Regions from separate parts of the Homo sapiens genome. Here region 2 is linked to region 1. Evidence: promoter capture Hi-C in 16 types of primary human blood cells and fetal thymus (Javierre and others, 2016). All regions are on one chromosome and are shown on one strand. The core of a region is centred on a gene start or on the middle of the fragment in contact, and the rest is flanking DNA. Distances in the headings are between cores, read along the strand shown. Region 1 holds the start of CCM2 (CCM2 scaffold protein). Region 2 holds the start of MRPS24 (mitochondrial ribosomal protein S24).

Evidence for each region. The method cuts DNA at HindIII sites, captures the fragments that hold promoters and counts their contacts. A CHiCAGO score of 5 or more calls a contact.
Region 2: a contact is called between the fragment with the promoter of MRPS24 here and the fragment with the promoter of CCM2 in region 1, in 1 of 17 cell types (neutrophils). The highest score is 6.7, in neutrophils.

Annotation. Positions count from the first base shown.
Region 1 is chr7:44,997,156-45,005,018 of GRCh38, reverse strand. It overlaps CCM2 (CCM2 scaffold protein), which reads right to left and starts at 4,818. Exons shown (of 10, transcript NM_031443.4): 1 at 4,656-4,818. The coding sequence starts at 4,685. It overlaps LOC102723334 (a long non-coding RNA gene), which reads left to right and starts at 5,011. Exons shown (of 4, transcript XR_428139.4): 1 at 5,011-5,301; 2 at 5,646-5,739. RefSeq lists silencers at 4,342-4,871, 5,502-5,551. The HindIII fragment of the contact is 6,187 bases long and covers 487-6,673 here.
Region 2 is chr7:43,865,850-43,873,712 of GRCh38, reverse strand. MRPS24 (mitochondrial ribosomal protein S24) reads left to right here and starts at 4,196. Exons shown (of 4, transcript NM_032014.3): 1 at 4,196-4,256; 2 at 4,337-4,405; 3 at 4,639-4,750; 4 at 6,731-7,155. The coding sequence starts at 4,218. The coding sequence ends at 7,014. It overlaps URGCP-MRPS24 (URGCP-MRPS24 readthrough), which reads left to right. Exons shown (of 7, transcript NM_001204871.2): 5 at 4,337-4,405; 6 at 4,639-4,750; 7 at 6,731-7,155. The coding sequence ends at 4,727. LOC124901620 (a long non-coding RNA gene) reads right to left here and starts at 4,067. Exons shown (of 2, transcript XR_007060296.1): 1 at 2,879-4,067; 2 at 2,071-2,765. RefSeq lists silencers at 1,622-1,797, 4,065-4,124, 4,425-4,484 and an enhancer at 3,715-3,834. The HindIII fragment of the contact is 8,402 bases long and covers 1-7,715 here.

The DNA.
Region 1 (7,863 bases), core at 3,569-6,068:
CATGAGCCTTTTTTTTTTTTTTGAGACGGAGTCTTACTCTTGTCGCCCAGGCTGGAGCGCAATGGCACATTCTCAGCTCACTGCAACCTCCATCTCCCGAGTTCAAGCAATTCTCCTGCCTCAGCCTCACAAGTAGCTAGGATTACAGGCCCCACCACCACGCTCAGCTAATTTTTGTATTTTTAGTAGAGATGGGGTTTCACCATGGCTGGTCTCAGACTCCTGACAGGTGATCCACCCACCTCAGCCTCCCAAAGTGCTGGGATTACCAGTGTGAGCCACCGCACCTGGCCAACCACCAGTTGTAATAGAAAGAAAAAAAAATAGAATTAAAAAATCAGAGCGTTTAAGTGTGGTTCCTTTAAACTTTCACTTCGGTTATACAGACACACACATTTATGTCTGCATCAGGTCAGCATGGAGAAGGTATGGCTTCCTGGTGCCTGCAGTGACCAAATTTTAAAAGGTACTGGTCCAATCCAAGCTTTCAGTTCCTCACAGACACTGGTCCAGCAGTGACTACAGCAGCTGATAGTTCAGGGCCTGTAACCTAGAGGATCTTTTCCCCTCCACTTTTTATTATGGAAATTCTCAAAAATACATAAAAGTAGACAGAACAATATATAACCATTACCAAAGCATTCAGCTATCCCCTTTGTTTCTTCTATTTTGAGTAAAGCAAATCCCAGAAATCATATTATTTCACCTACAAATATCTCAGAATACATGCCTATCAGATCAGAACTTAATTATCATACCCAACAAAATTAATAATTCCTTATTTATTATTTAATATCTAGTCCTACATTTCTAGGGAACTTTATAACCTTTTTTTTCTCTTTTTCTTCTTGAGACAGGGTCTTGCTGTCACTCAGGTGGTGGCACAATCACACTCACTGCAGCCTCGACCTCCAGGGCTCAAGCGATCTTCCCTTCTCAGCATCCCAAGTAGCTGGAACTACAGGCATGCACCACCATGCTCAGCTAATTTTCTTATTTTTTGTAGAGATAGGGTCTCACTACATTGTCCAGGCTGATCTCAAACTCCTAGGCTCAAGTGATCCTCCCACCTCAGTCTCCCAAAGTGCTGGGATTACAGGCGTAGCCACTACACTCAACCTATAACCTTTTTCTACCTTAAACAATGCAAATAAACTAGATGAATGTAAAAATATTTAACTTTGATCAGTGTGAAATCATAGCCACCTGGTGGGGCAACCGAAGACCAGAGGCAGCAGAGAAGCTGAGACCCACAAGGTTAAGGCCACAAGATGGTTTTTTTTTTTTTTTGGAGATGGAGTCTTGCCCTGTTGCCCAGGCTGGAGTACAGTGGCATGATCTCAGCTCACTGCAACCTCCACCTCCCGGGTTCAAGAGATTCTCCTGCCTCAGCCTCCTAACTGGGATTATAGGCACATGCCACCACGCCCAGCTAATTTTGTATTTTTAGTAGAGACGGGGTTTCACCATGCTGGCCAGGCTGGTCTCAAACTCCTGGTGTCAAGTGATCCGCCTGCTTCGGCCTCCCAAAGTGTTAGGATTACCTACACCCAACCCTGACAAGACAGCTTTTTTGGGCTGTGATCTGAGTATAAAAATCCACACAACCCAACTTAAGTGCATCCAAGTTTCTAATAAAAAGGAATTACTGTCAGGTGCGGTGGCTCAGCCACCCAGCACCTTGGGAGGCCAAGGTGGGTGGATCACCTGAGATCCGGAGTTTGAGACTAGCCTGACCAACATGGAGAAACCCCGTCTCTACTAAAAATACAAAAATTAGCTGGGCATGATGGCACACGCCTGTAATCCCAGCTACTCGGGAGGCTGAGGCAAGAGAATCACCTGAACCCGGGAGGCGGAGGTTGCAGTGAGCTGAGATCGTGCCATTGCACTCCAGCCTGGGCAACAAGAGCGAAACTCTATCTCAAAAAAAAAGGAATTACATAGTGCCACAATGCACAGAACATGAGTCCATACCGTAGGTAGGAGCCTTATTCTCCAAACCCCAAAACAGAACTTGTAGGCTAAAAAGTAGACACTCTGTAGACATCAGGACAGAAGAGCAGCCCCAAGTGGTCACTTCTACTCCCCAGGCCCCACACCTTTAGTGGCCAGAGGACTTTTCTGTCAATGCACTCATTCCTTCAGATGGACCCATGAGTGATCCATCTCCCCATCAGCTCCTGGGGGCCACAAGCTCTTCCTGTATCCCCATCACCCAGTGAGTTTCATGGGACACAAGAGGGGCTCAACAGACATTTGTTAAACGAACCATGGCCCACTTGAGGAAACCCAGGTGTACAGTCATCATCACCACATGTGCTGAGGTGACTTGAGAAAGGGCAGTGATACACTGGGGCCAAGTTTCCGTGAGACTCACTTTGGTCCATAGGTTCTCTGCCAACTCACTGATTCCTGTGTCCTGAGGAAAATGGGCCGAGGTAAAAAAAAGCCTGAATCACTGCTTGGCAGACACCAAGACAAGTGTCTGAGATTAAAAAGAAAAAAAAAAAAAAGGCCCACCTGAGCTCAGGTGATCCTCCTGCCTCAGCCTCCCAAGTAGCTGAGACTATAGGCGAGCGCTGCCGCGCCTGGCTAATTTCTGTATTTTTTGTATAGATGGGGTTTTGCCATGTTGCCCAGGCTGGTCTCGAACTCCTGAGCTAAAGTGATCGAGCCTTGGCCTCCCAAAGTGCTGGATTACAGGCGTAGCTACCATACCCAGCCTAATTCTGCATTTTTTGAAGAAGCTAACTTAGAAGAATTTAAGCGTCCAAACTGTACCTTCATAAAACTATTGTCAGCACTTCTGCTACTTATGTCTGAATTTGTGTATAAGTTTAGAGCAATGCAATTTACCTTAATGAGAATGATTTAACCACCGAAGTTATTAAACTGGAGGTGATCTCACATTGAATGTGGTAGCTGAGCAGGAAGGTTCTGCCAGCTTGCAACTGGCAGAGTACACGAGGTAGTGTTAAGTCATGACCTGGAGAAGAATCCATGCCCCAAAGCTCCTTGTCTGGCTTGTCTACAGGAAACAAGCTAAGACAAGTGGCAGAATACAGAAAAAACACAAAACCCCTGGCTTAAGCAACTACATAACAACTGATTATCTCCTCTAGTGAGAAAATGAAATTAATAATTAACCTGTTTATGCCTAAATTTTTTCATTACCCAACTGGAAAATTCTTGATAATTTTACTGTTTTTTCACTTGTACCCCAAAAACAGTCTTACTGCTTCTCTCTCTCTCTCCCTATTTGCTGGGTGTTTCATGTTTCTACCAAAGCTGATAGACAGCTCTAGAAAAAAAAATCACTCAATTCCATCCTTGCCTATCACACACAGGTAGATGGGCCAGGTACTCCTGTAAGCGGTGCACAATGAGGTCATCAGTCCTTAGCGCGCTCTTGGATCCCGGCATTCCACAGAGCACATGGCTCACTTTCCGCAAAGCTCAGCATCATCCACACTCGGGCCTGATGGTCCCTACTAAGCAGCCACCGGGTTAGCACCTCTCCTTTCCAGCTAACTCCTTTTACACTGCTTGGCTCCTCCCTCTTCTGTGCGCAGCACGCATCTCTAATCTAACACCTGCAGGCTGAATCACTATCTTGAGCTATTTTCCAGACTTAAAACATCTTTGTAGATAACCGCAAATTATACTGCACCTAAATTAGACATGCATGGTGCTAACATGAAACAATGAGTTGAGAAAGTAGAGAACCAGCACCACAGGACTCCCTGAAGGCCACCTGGCTACATTCTATTTCAAACAGGACTTTTAAATGGGGCACTCTGTCAAACAAGGTGGTGAGTAGCTGTCAATTAAAGGACACTTCCCTGCAGAGTTCAGGGTAGTAAAATCATAGTTAGGAATTATCGAGGTCTGCTTTAAACTTGTGGATAAAAGTGCGCACACACACATCAAAAAGAAAATGATAGCCAAGACGTGAAGATTATAAAGCATTTATTTGAAAAAGATACATTTTATTAAAATCCATTTTCCACTTTAATGGTAGTTCAATCCACATCGTTTTTCCAGTCTTAAAATGTTTCTTTATCGACTACTATAACCCTTTACTGTAATTAAAGCCACATTTTGTAAAACTACATAAACTGGGGTTTGACTATGAACTATGTCCTAAATCCCACTGCCAAATGTAGCTAGCGTCACTAAAATCAATCAATGGTTTTAGGTCTGAGTGATAGTGGACGAGTGAGCTGGCCATAAGGTGAAGGCCACCCTTGCTTTTACTGGATATCCAAAAACGAAGTCCAGTGAGCAGCAAACGTCTCCACGTTAACCACACAGCCCACTAGCTCCAGTTCCAGCCCTGGACAGCTTTCTGGCCCCTCGCCGGGCCCACTTCCTCTGCAGCCCCAGGTCCCGACGCGCAGGGAAGGCCGTCTGGGGCCGAGGTCGGGGCGAGCCGCTGCCCGGGCCAGAGGAAAGGCGCGGCGCTTCCTGCCCGCCCGGCCGCGAAAGCCCACCTGACCATTGTCCGGGGTCTCGCCCTGCCCCGCCCCGCCCCGCCAGCTGGCCCACTGCCCCCCCCCCCGGGCCCCAAGGAACACCCGCCCACCCCACCCTGGCCCCTCAACCCAGCCGCCCGCCGACCACAGCAGTAGGACGCCCCCGCGCACGCTCACCTTCTTGCCCTTCTTGCCCTCCTCTTCCATATCGCCGCGTGCGGCTCCCGCGGCCCGCCCGGCCCGCCCCGGGAGCCCCGCCGCCAGCAGCCGCTACATGCTCGACCCGGGCCCGCCGCCCCCGCGCTCCCGGCGCCGCCCGCCAGCCGGGCCCGAAGTCTCCGCCCCGGCCGCGCCCCACACCCGCACTTCCGGGCCCGAGCCCCCTCCGCCCCGCCCAGGCCCCACCTTCCCCAGCGCAGGCCCCGCCCACGGTTGTCGCTCATCCTCACTTTCAGGCCCAAGGGAATCCGACCCGCAGCGATCAGACCCCGCCCCTTCAGGGAGAACACGGCCCGTTGGCCCCGCTCACGGCGAGAGCACCGCCCACAGGCTGAAGATCCTGCCCCTTCAGGACGGCCGAGAACGCGCCTGCCTTGCACCACCCCCACCCCGCCCCGCGTCCTTCAGGAGAGCCGGAAACGCTCCTACCCCTACTTCGCTTCTGCACGGCCGCGAGAACGCACCTGTCCAGCCCCCTGTTCGCTCCGCCCACTCAGCGCGCGCGGGAGCGCGCGCGGGAGCAGCTCCAACTTTTTCAATTTGCCGCCATCTTTACGGCGGCCGACTTCCCAGCCTGCCTCGCGTCCAGGGAGGCGGAGCTCAGGTCTCTGAAAAGGGGACGGGGGGCGGGGGACGGGGGACGGGGGCCGGCGGGAGGGGACGCGGCCGGCAGATGGCGAAGGAGGGGCGCGAGGAGGCGGCCACTGTTGAGGGGCGGGGCGTCCCGCCGAGAGTCTGGGTGCGGTGCGGTTTTCTTTTTTCTTGTGTCCCACTTTATTCCCTGAGCCACAGGGAATCCGTTTTCTAGTACTTCTCTGTTATAAAGTCTGCCTGCCTTAGACAAACACATTTGGAAAATAGAAGTGCAACCACAAGGATGTGCAGACCCTATCAGAATAAAATCGTAGAACCTTACCAGTCATCCGGTATAATTTCCACATTTTCCAGATGAGGTCCGGGGAATGAGGTGATTCGCCCAAAAGCACACTACAAATTGGAGTCACCAGCAGGTCTGCTATTTTGCCACTAAACCAATCTGCCGGTAAGAACTTTGTAGCACAGCTAGAATGTAAACTGTGTTTTTTTGGTGGTTTTTTTTTTTTTTTGAGACGGAGCCTTGCTCTGTCGCCCAGGCTGGAGTGCCAGTGGCGTGGATCTCGGCTCACTGCAAGCTCTGCCTCGCGGGTTCACGCCGTTCTCCTGCCTCAGCCTCCCGAGTAGCTGGGACTACAGGCGCCAGCCACCACACCTGGCTAATTTTTGTATTTTTAGTAGAGACGGGGTTTCACCATGGTCTGGATCTCCTGACCTGGTGATCCGCCCACCTCGGCCTCCCAAAGTGCTGGGATTACAGGCGTGAGCCACCGCGCCCGGCCTAATAATTCTTTATATTAAACTTTTCTTTACTGTGTTTCTGTCTCCTGACTGGGCCTATGTTATACTGATATTCAAAAGAAATACTTGGTCTCTAGACCTCTCCAAAGGCATAAGTATTCCATTCTCTGCAAGATAAAGCAGAGATAGTGGAAACACCCTTTCAATCTGCCTTCTGCAATAATCCAGCTTGCCACATTTACACACGCAAATGATGTAGCGCATCTGGTTGTCATTATTTTCCCACCATTCACAGAACAAAGGCCTGATATTTAAAGTCTTCCACCGTCTTCCACAAATGCATATTTATCACTCCATAATACAGTAAACAACACTACTAAAACTTCTCTTAGCCTAACTCTGGATGTGCTGACTTCCTCAGGCTGTTCTTATCCATCAGAATACCTTTGCCCTGTCTTTGCATACACAGGTTCATGCTTCAAGCAAAAGTCCACTGGCTAATGATCAGATGGTGATAACTGGGAATAAAGACAATAAAATGAGAAAAGCAAAAAGGCTGTTAGCTTGCTATAACAAGGGAGTCAGCCACCATCATTTGTATTTGGATGAGACTCAATGTCAGGCAGAGGAGTGGGTAAGCTTTATAGTGAAAAAAGGGAAGCCTCCAGGGATGTCCTCATTTGAGGCTGTTGGCCTGGGGAAGCAAGGGGCAGGGCATCCCAAGTGATTGGTTAGGGGCACATATTTGTCTTTCTCTGGTTGCTCCTAAGCTGGAAGCAGGACCGAAAACTAGGAAAGCTGCCAGTTTTTTTTTAATTGACAAATAATTTTTTGTTTCTTTTGTATTTTTAGAGATAAAGTCTCACTCTGTCCTTCAGGTTAGAGTGCAGTGATGCAGTCATGGCTCACTGAAGCTTCAACCTCCTGGGCTCAAGCAATCCTCCCATCTCAGCCTCCCAAGTAGCTGGGACTACAAGGACGCATCACCAAGCCTGGCTAATTTTAGTATATTTTTGTTGAGACAAGGTCACACTATGTTGCCCAGGCTGGTCTCAAACTCCTAGGCTCAAGCAATCCTCCCTCCTCAGCCTCCCAAAGTGCTGGGATTATAGGCATGAGCCATCGCACCCAGCTAACACATAATAATTGTACATATTTATGAGGTACATGTGATTTGTGTGTGTGTGTGAGGCAGAGTCTCACTCTGTCACCCAGGCTGGAGTGCAGTGGCATGATTTCAGCTCACTGCAACCTCTGCCTCCCAGGTTCAAGCAATTCTCCTGCCTCAGCTTCCCAAGTAGCTGGGATTACAGGCATGCACCACCACACCAGGCTAATTTTTTTTTTTTTTTTTTTTTTGAGACAGAGTCTTACTCTGTATTGCCCAGGCTGTAGTGCAGTGGTGCAATCTCAGCTCACTGCAACATCCACCCCCCAGTTTCAAGCGATTCTCCTGCCTCCGGAGTAGCTGGAATTACAGGTGCCCACTACCACGCCCGGCTAATTTCTGTATTTTTAGTAGAGACAGGGTTTCACCATGTTGCCCAGGCTGGTCTCGAACTCCTGGCCTCATGTGATCTGTCCACCTTAGCCTCCCAAAGTGCTGAGATTACAGGCATGAGCCACTGCACCCGGCCAAAATACATGTGATATTTTGATACATGCATATGATGTGTAATAATAAAATCAGGGTATTTAGGATATTCGTCACCTGAACACTTATTTCTTTGTGTTGGAGACATTTCAGATCTCTCCTAGCTATTCTGAAATATACAGTACATTGTTATTAACTATAGTCATCTTACTCTGCTATGGAACATTAGAATTTAGG
Region 2 (7,863 bases), core at 2,947-5,446, 1.1 Mb after region 1:
GTGTATTAGCCCAGTAAAAGGGAAAATCCTCTTTCTGAGTCACTAATAAAATAATTTGGCCATAAACCTATCCTGATTTCTTCTAAGACTCCAACAAAATTTCACCAGAGTGCAGCTTTATGAGCACTGATGAGTCAGGGCTGTACAAGAGCCAAGATGACCTTGGTCCTGGTCTCCTGTCATTTCGTCAACCACACCCTCGCCCCGCCACATACACACTTTGGAGGCCATGGTTTCTTCCATGCTGCTGTCTGCCTGGGGGCCCCTTCTGCCTGTCTCTGGCCCTGGTTGACTGGCGGGCACATCTCTCAGAACAGCCTCTGGTGCCAGTCGCACCTCCATTTGTGCCCACCCAAGGGTTCAGAGGCCTTTCTGTGCCCTTCTTGGTCCTTAGCACATTTTCATTGTCTCCTCATCTGAGCCCATTATATCTAGATCTAGCAGTTTCTGGGAGCCAGGGAGTGGCAGTCTCAGGGGCTGGAGCTCATGAGCCCATCCCTCGGTCTTCTCTTTCTTGAGTCCGCACCCCCTCTATCCTAAGCACCAGTTTGGCTTCTTCAGGTTCTGACTTTTAGCCCAGGGTTCTGGTGTGGCACTGGGCATTTCTAATTGCCCATAGCTCTGATAACAGGGGAGTGGATTCCTTGGGACCGCAAAGCTGATGTCAGTAATTATAGCTGGGGACCTCACCCACCAAACCCAGCCCTTGTGCCTCACCAGAAGGAGAACAGAGGTGGGGGGATGGAGCAGGAGCTCACAGGGAAAACGGCTGAGCTGTCTTGGCAATCTGGTTTGACACGCCTCTCTGCTTTACTCATAGGGTTTCAGTTGTTTGACCTATTTCTCAGAATAGAGCTGAGAGCCTCTGGGATTTTTCCTAGTGAACGAGTTATTAGGAAAAAAAGAATCACAAGGAATAATGTAAAAACCATAGGTTTACAAAGTGTAAAGTGTCAGCAGTTCTGAGTTAGGATAAGTCAGCTGTAAAGAGAACCACCATGAGTGGAGTGATATCGGCTCACCCTGCAGCCAACAGGAAGGGAGATGTCACCCCACCGCCCCCAGGCTGGATTCTGAAACTCTTCAGGCTCTGGAAGTACAAGGGGGCTGACAGCTCCCTTTTACACAGTGTCTCTCCATGGCCCAGCCAGTGCTGTATCCCCTGAGCACTCTGGGTGAGCCCATGGTGGCTGTGCTGCACCCAACTGGACAGATCATCTCAAAGAAGTCCTGACCTCCCAGCAGACCCCTCCTCCCTTCTTCTGCCCTTGTGACCAAGAGTGGTGGGCGTGGACTATGGCTATGTTCCTTAGAGAGCTGCCATAATCTTCCAGGGGCATCCAACAGCACTCTCCCCGAAAGGGGGCTCTGCAAATACACATTTTGGGAGTCTCCCAAATAAACTGAGTGAGTTCAGGACACTGGTTCTCAGCCCCGACTGCAAATTGAAATCATCTAAGGGGCATTTTAAAAGTGTGAGTGCCTGCCCTCTCCCCACAGAGGTGGTGTGGAACCCAGGGGGCTCTGTCATGCAATTGCAAATCACTGCTTTGAGAGCATAGGAGCAACTTCTGGTTCTTGGTTATTATGTACAGAACAAAGGCTCATGTCAGAGAAAAAGCAGTTTTACATCCCTGTCTCTGCATTAGGCTCCAGGAAGGGTGCAGATGGGTCTTTCACATGGGGTCATATGCTCCTGGCCTTTCCATGTCCAGGCAGTCCTTGAGGGCCACTTGGGAGCTGTCTGCAGCAAGCCACAGAAACCCAGGCCATTCCCTGATCCTAACATGGTCTGAACCCTCACCCCCAGGAAGTGATACTGAAAGAGCACATGCTTTGGAGCAAAAAGGCCTGCTACCATTTACTACTTCTGTAACCTCAGGTGAGTCTGTGAGCCTCCATCTTCTGCTCTGTGAAGCCTGGAAATACTGCCTCCTTTATGGAATTAATAGGAGAAGGAAAGTGCATCAAAACAACAACAAATGGAAGTTACAGAAAAATAAAACATCCCCAGTCAGATTTTTCTGCTGATTATTTAAAACAATATAACATTCATACTGATGTATAAAAGTCATTTTAAGTAATTTTAATCATGTAAAGACCGACACGTCCCCTTTCCCCCAATCACAGTATAAACAAAGCTAATAAAGGATAGATAACAAGATATTTGAACCCCAGAAATGTCTGCCACTGAAATGGCCATTGTGATGCTTGGAAAGATCTAGATCGGTTTGGAATTCCAGAGAGAGATCTCAGGCATAAGGGAGAATGGCTTGAATAGAGGAAAGCATAAATTTGATCATTTGATTGCCTACTGCTTTATGGGCTAAACTTGATTCCCAACCACAGCCTTCGTGGTGTGGCCCCTGCCCACCTTGGGCCCCAATAGGTGTTGTGCCATTGCCACCTCTGCCTCTGATCAGCCCAAGGATCTTGTTTCCCTTTCTCCTTCCCCTTTCCTCTGATTAGGGTGGTGTTGCTATGAGTTCTCACAGAACCCTCAATAGCTGGCTCATCTCCCTAACGGGATATGTGGCTATCAGGGACTCGTTAAAAACAACAACAAAACCCACAACTGCTCTCTCCCTCTGCCAGGCACATCATACTGTACTTCTCACAACCACCATTATTGTCCCCAGTTTACAGATGAGAGAAACCGAGGCTCAGAAGGTTCAGTCACTTGTCCAAATTACACAGCCAGGAAGCATTGGGTCCACGATTTGGACTCAGGCAATTCAGATGCCACATCCCATGTTCCTCACCACCTTGGAGCAAATTAATGAAACTTAACAATTATAAAATTATTGAACATTATGAAAACTTTAAAAAATAATTGTCAGTTGAAAAGGATTTCTTAGGAAATGTTGAAAGTTCTTACATTTGCAAAGTATGCATTGGAGGGCACCTCATCCCTGTTCTGTCCCTTTATTCAATATGCATAACAGTTGGGGGCCGCAGTTCCTAAAAAGTAAGAATAAAACATTTCTGGTGAAGTGGACATGGAAGACCTTGTCCTTTTATTACGGGTTTTTTGAGAACCCACCTTCATGTAATCAGAGGAATCTTGGTCATGGGAAATGGGCTGGACTGAAGTCAAGAGACTTGTGTCTTGGTCCCTCTTTCCCTCTTCTCAGTGTGGTCATGGGCAACTCATTTCCACCGTTCTTCCATTTCCCCTTCCCATGGATCATAATCCAGTCCTCCCCCTGACAGGAAACCGCAGCAGTATGCAAGTACTGTACCATTAAGGGGAATGATGTAGACCCAGAACGGCCAAAACATTGGCAATTTCACATCACTCAACCAAACACAACCCATCATTGATTAAATATTCTCTTGATCCTAATAGCTCTATAAGGTAGTACTATTATTAAGGCCCATTTTATAGATAATAGAACTGAGTCTTAACTGTACAAAGATTGTTATACATGGGTCTGACTCCAGAGCCCGTGTTTTTTCCATGACCGTGGTGACTTCTAAAATAAAATATCCCGCGTTGCTATTTTTCCGTTTGACATTAATAATTACTGGATACCAATAATAGTGGCGACGCACTGGTTTCAGCATTACAGGCCCTGCGATATTCTCACGAATCTCCTTGCCCTCCGGCCCCTTCCCCGTACTTAAAATTTTCCTTCCTCAGGGGCCAGTCACCACTGTGGTCACATGTGGCAAACCCATTCTTGCATAACTGCGTAAGTCATCCTTGAAGAATTGGGTGACGTTTTAACCAAAATATGTTTCTTCTTTATTTGTGGATAAAAGTCTGGAGGGTTTTTCTGTTTTGTTTTTCTACGAATATTATTTGGAGGCATAACTAGGACCTGGGGAAACGCTTGGCTCCTCTTCGAGCCCCGAGGGTGCAGGTTGGGCAGGGCGGGCTCCGGTGGGCCGCACACCCATCACCCGTACTAGCGTGAGGTTGTCGAAGAGAAAATCTCACGTTTCGCATCCTCAAATTTCCGGATCTGAAACCCTATGCAAGCAGCAACCGCGGGAGAGCGAACAGCGGCGGGATGAGCATTCACAAGGCTGAGCATTCACAGGGCTGCGGGGAAGGCGGGAGTAACAGCTAGCAGCATACCGCGGCCCCGCCCCGCAGAGGCCCTGCCCCGCCCCCGCCAGAGTACAGAGTACGAGCTCCGACTTGGTCTCGTCCGCGGTCGTCCCCACCCCTCAGCGCGCTGTGGTACGTCCCGCGCTCCGCTTGGCCCAAGATGGCGGCCTCCGTGTGCAGCGGGTTGCTGGGGCCACGGGTGAGTGGGGCGACTCGGCAGGTCCCTGCGAGTCGGAGGTGGGGTCCCTAGTTTCCGCCTCACGCGCCCTCCCTCCACAGGTGCTGTCCTGGAGCCGAGAGCTGCCTTGCGCTTGGCGCGCCCTGCACACCTCCCCGGTCTGCGCCAAGGTGAGCACCGCCGGGGCAGGGGCCTGGGGGCCTGGGGGCCGGGGGGCCGGGGGCCGGGGAAGCCGTGCGGGCTGAAGGGGGCGTGTCGCTGGGGTCCGAGGCGGGGCTAGGGTCGGGGCTTAGGGATCAGGGGATTGGGGCCGGGGAACAGTGCCAGCTGACTGGGGGGACATGGCGCGAAGTAGGGGTCTGGATCGGGGATCTCGTGGAGTCACGGCCCCTTTTGCTCCTAGAACCGGGCGGCCCGAGTACGCGTAAGCAAGGGGGACAAGCCGGTGACCTACGAGGAGGCACACGCGCCGCACTACATCGCCCACCGTAAAGGCTGGCTGTCGCTGCACACAGGTGAGCGGACCCCAGGCCTCCAAAAGGAGCACTCAATCCGACTGTCATGTAAACAAAATGAACACGTGTCACAGGTTTTCTTTAACTCAGGAAATAATGCTAGGGTCAGAAATCTATGAAACCAACTCAAGGGAGACATAAAAAAGCAGAGATATATATAGATCAGGATGTTGAAACAAATTTGAAGATGGATGCAAAACTGACTTTTTCCATGGCAGGCAGGGACTCAATTGATCCTCCACTGAACAGAAATTATTTGCATGTCTACAGACAAGAATTATTTTGCATTCCTGTCAGTTATCTGTAATTTACAGAGCTGTAAAATAGCTCAGAGTCAAGGAAAGGAGTGAAACCGTTGCAGAATCTGATAACCCTGAACAGTGTGCTCTAAGGAATGCAGTTTTCCACTAAAGCACAAATTTTTCTCTGTAAATATATACAGACAACCCTCGTTATTCATGAATTCCATATTTTCAGATTCTTCTACTGACTAAAATTTATTTGTAAGCCCCAAATCAACACTCTGGGCACTCTCAAGGTCACTCTGAGATGTGGGTGGAGCTGCCACCCCAGGTGCATGTCCCGAGCTGAGGTCGACAAGGCTCTGCCTAGTTTCAGCTCTCGTACTGTAAAAGGTGTCCTTTTTATGGTCTAGAATCTTTTTTTTTTAATTTGCATTTTCGTGCTTTTTGTTAGTGATTTTGCTGTTTAAAATGGCCTTGCAATGCTGAAGTGCTATCTAGTGTTCCTAAGCGGGAGAAGGCTGTGACGTGCCTTAGGGAGAACATACATGTATTAGAGAATCTTTCTTCAGTCATGAGTTGCTCTTGGCCCTGAATTCAATGTTAGTGAATCTACCATATATATTAAACAAGGTGTCTTTAAACAGAAACACAAAGGAAACTAGGTTATGTATTGATTTGTTAACAAAAATACGGTGCCCAGAGGCTGAAAGGAATCTAACCCTGTATTTCACCTAGGAGCAATGGTTCAGTATTCACTAAGTCAGTGTTGGCAGTGACTTTATAGAATATAACTATTGTGAACAATTGATAACCAACTGTGCTTTGTTTAGTACAGGGGTTCTTGGATGTTTGAGATGCATCTAGAGAACTTACTTAAAATACAGATGCTTGCCTGGCACGGTGGCTCACGCCTGTAATCCCAGCACTTTGGGAGGCCGAGGAGGGTGGATCCTGAGGTCAGGAGTTCAATACCAACCTGGCCAAGATGGTGAAACCCCATCTCTACTAAAAATACAAAAAAATTAGCTGGGCGTAGTGGCGGGCGCCTGCAATCCCAGCTATTCAGGAGGCTGAGGCAGAGAATTGTTTGAACCCAAGAGGCGGAGGTTGCAGTGAGCCGAGATCACGCCACTGCACTCCAGCCTGGACGACAGAGTGAGACTCCATCTCAAAAAAAAAAAAAAAAAAAAAAAAAAAGAGAGAGAGATGCTTGTCTCCCACTCTTTCAGGTTCTGGTCTGAGGTTTGGATGTAGGTGTGCAGACTCTTAGTGGACATTGTAAGGGCTGCAGGGGATCCACAGTTCACACTGAGGAACCCACTGGTGGAAGCCCTGGGCCTAGCTCATGTCCCTAATCTCAAAAATAGCTGGTAGCCTCATCTTTCTGGCCCATGGGATGACCAGTGTTTTTATAAGGCAGCCAAGAAAGCAGGAAAGGGGCTAGATGTGGTGGCATCATCTTGAGTTTTGTACCCTGACTCAGGCCTCCATCTTCCTTTTTGTAAAATAAGGATAATGATAATACCTACTAAACTGAATTGGCTTGGGAATTAATGACATAACATACTTTGAACTTTAAAGTGTTATTTTTCTTATTCCATTAGCAGAAGAAAAGAGAAGAGGCTGGGGGTGAAGGGTGGGATTGTGCTCAGCGCTTTTGGATGTTGACTCTGGAGTTATGGCAGGGCCCTGGGGCAATGAGGCTGATTCTTCTATTATGCCCTTCCCTCTTCAGGTAACCTGGATGGAGAGGACCATGCCGCAGAGCGAACGGTGGAGGATGTTTTCCTTCGCAAGTTCATGTGGGGTACCTTCCCAGGCTGCCTGGCTGACCAGCTGGTTTTAAAGCGCCGGGGTAACCAGTTGGAGATCTGTGCCGTGGTCCTGAGGCAGTTGTCTCCACACAAGTACTACTTCCTCGTGGGCTACAGTGAAACTTTGCTGTCCTACTTTTACAAATGTCCTGTGCGACTCCACCTCCAAACTGTGCCCTCAAAGGTTGTGTATAAGTACCTCTAGAACAATCCCCTTTTTTCCATCAAGCTGTAGCCTGCAGAGAATGGAAACGTGGGAAAGGAATGGTATGTGGGGGAAATGCATCCCCTCAGAGGACTGAGGCATAGTCTCTCATCTGCTATTGAATAAAGACCTTCTATCTTGTCTTGCCTCTCTGTTTTTACTCTTGGATGAGGGAACTAGAGTAGCGTTTCTTTGACGATGCTCCAGGGTTTGCAGGAAGGCTGACGCCAGTTGTTTGAAGTTTAATTCATAGCTACAGTTTGGTGAGTACCTGTGCCAATCAATCACTCTGTCAAGCACTTTGCCTAAAAGTTCTTTGTTTTTTCTCAAGATGGAAAGACCCATTCAGTGTTAGTTTTTAAGAATCAAAACAGGCTGGGCACGGTGGCTCACGCCTGTAATCCCAGCACTTTGGGAGGCCGAGATGGGCAGATCACGAGGTTAGGAGATTGAGACCATCCTGGCTAACAAGGTGAAACCCCGTCTCTATTAAAAATACAAAAAATTAGCTGGGCATGGTGGCGGGCGTCTGTAGTCCCAGCTATTCGGGAGGCTGAGGCAGGAGAATGGTGCGAACTCGAGAGGCGGAGCTTGCAGTGAGCTGAGATCGCGCCACTGCACTCCAGCCTGGGTGACAGAGCAAGACTCCATCTCAAAAAAAAAAAAACAATATGAACATATATCAAATTGACCATGAAGCTTTCTTATAATTCCACTCCAGAGAGAACTACTGTGAACAGCTTTTATATTTTATTCCCAGATGTACTTTTTTCAAGGAATACTTTTATGCACACTCATCGATACTAAACTCTTATCGAGTGCCTCCTCCGGCCCAAGCACTCTTCTAAC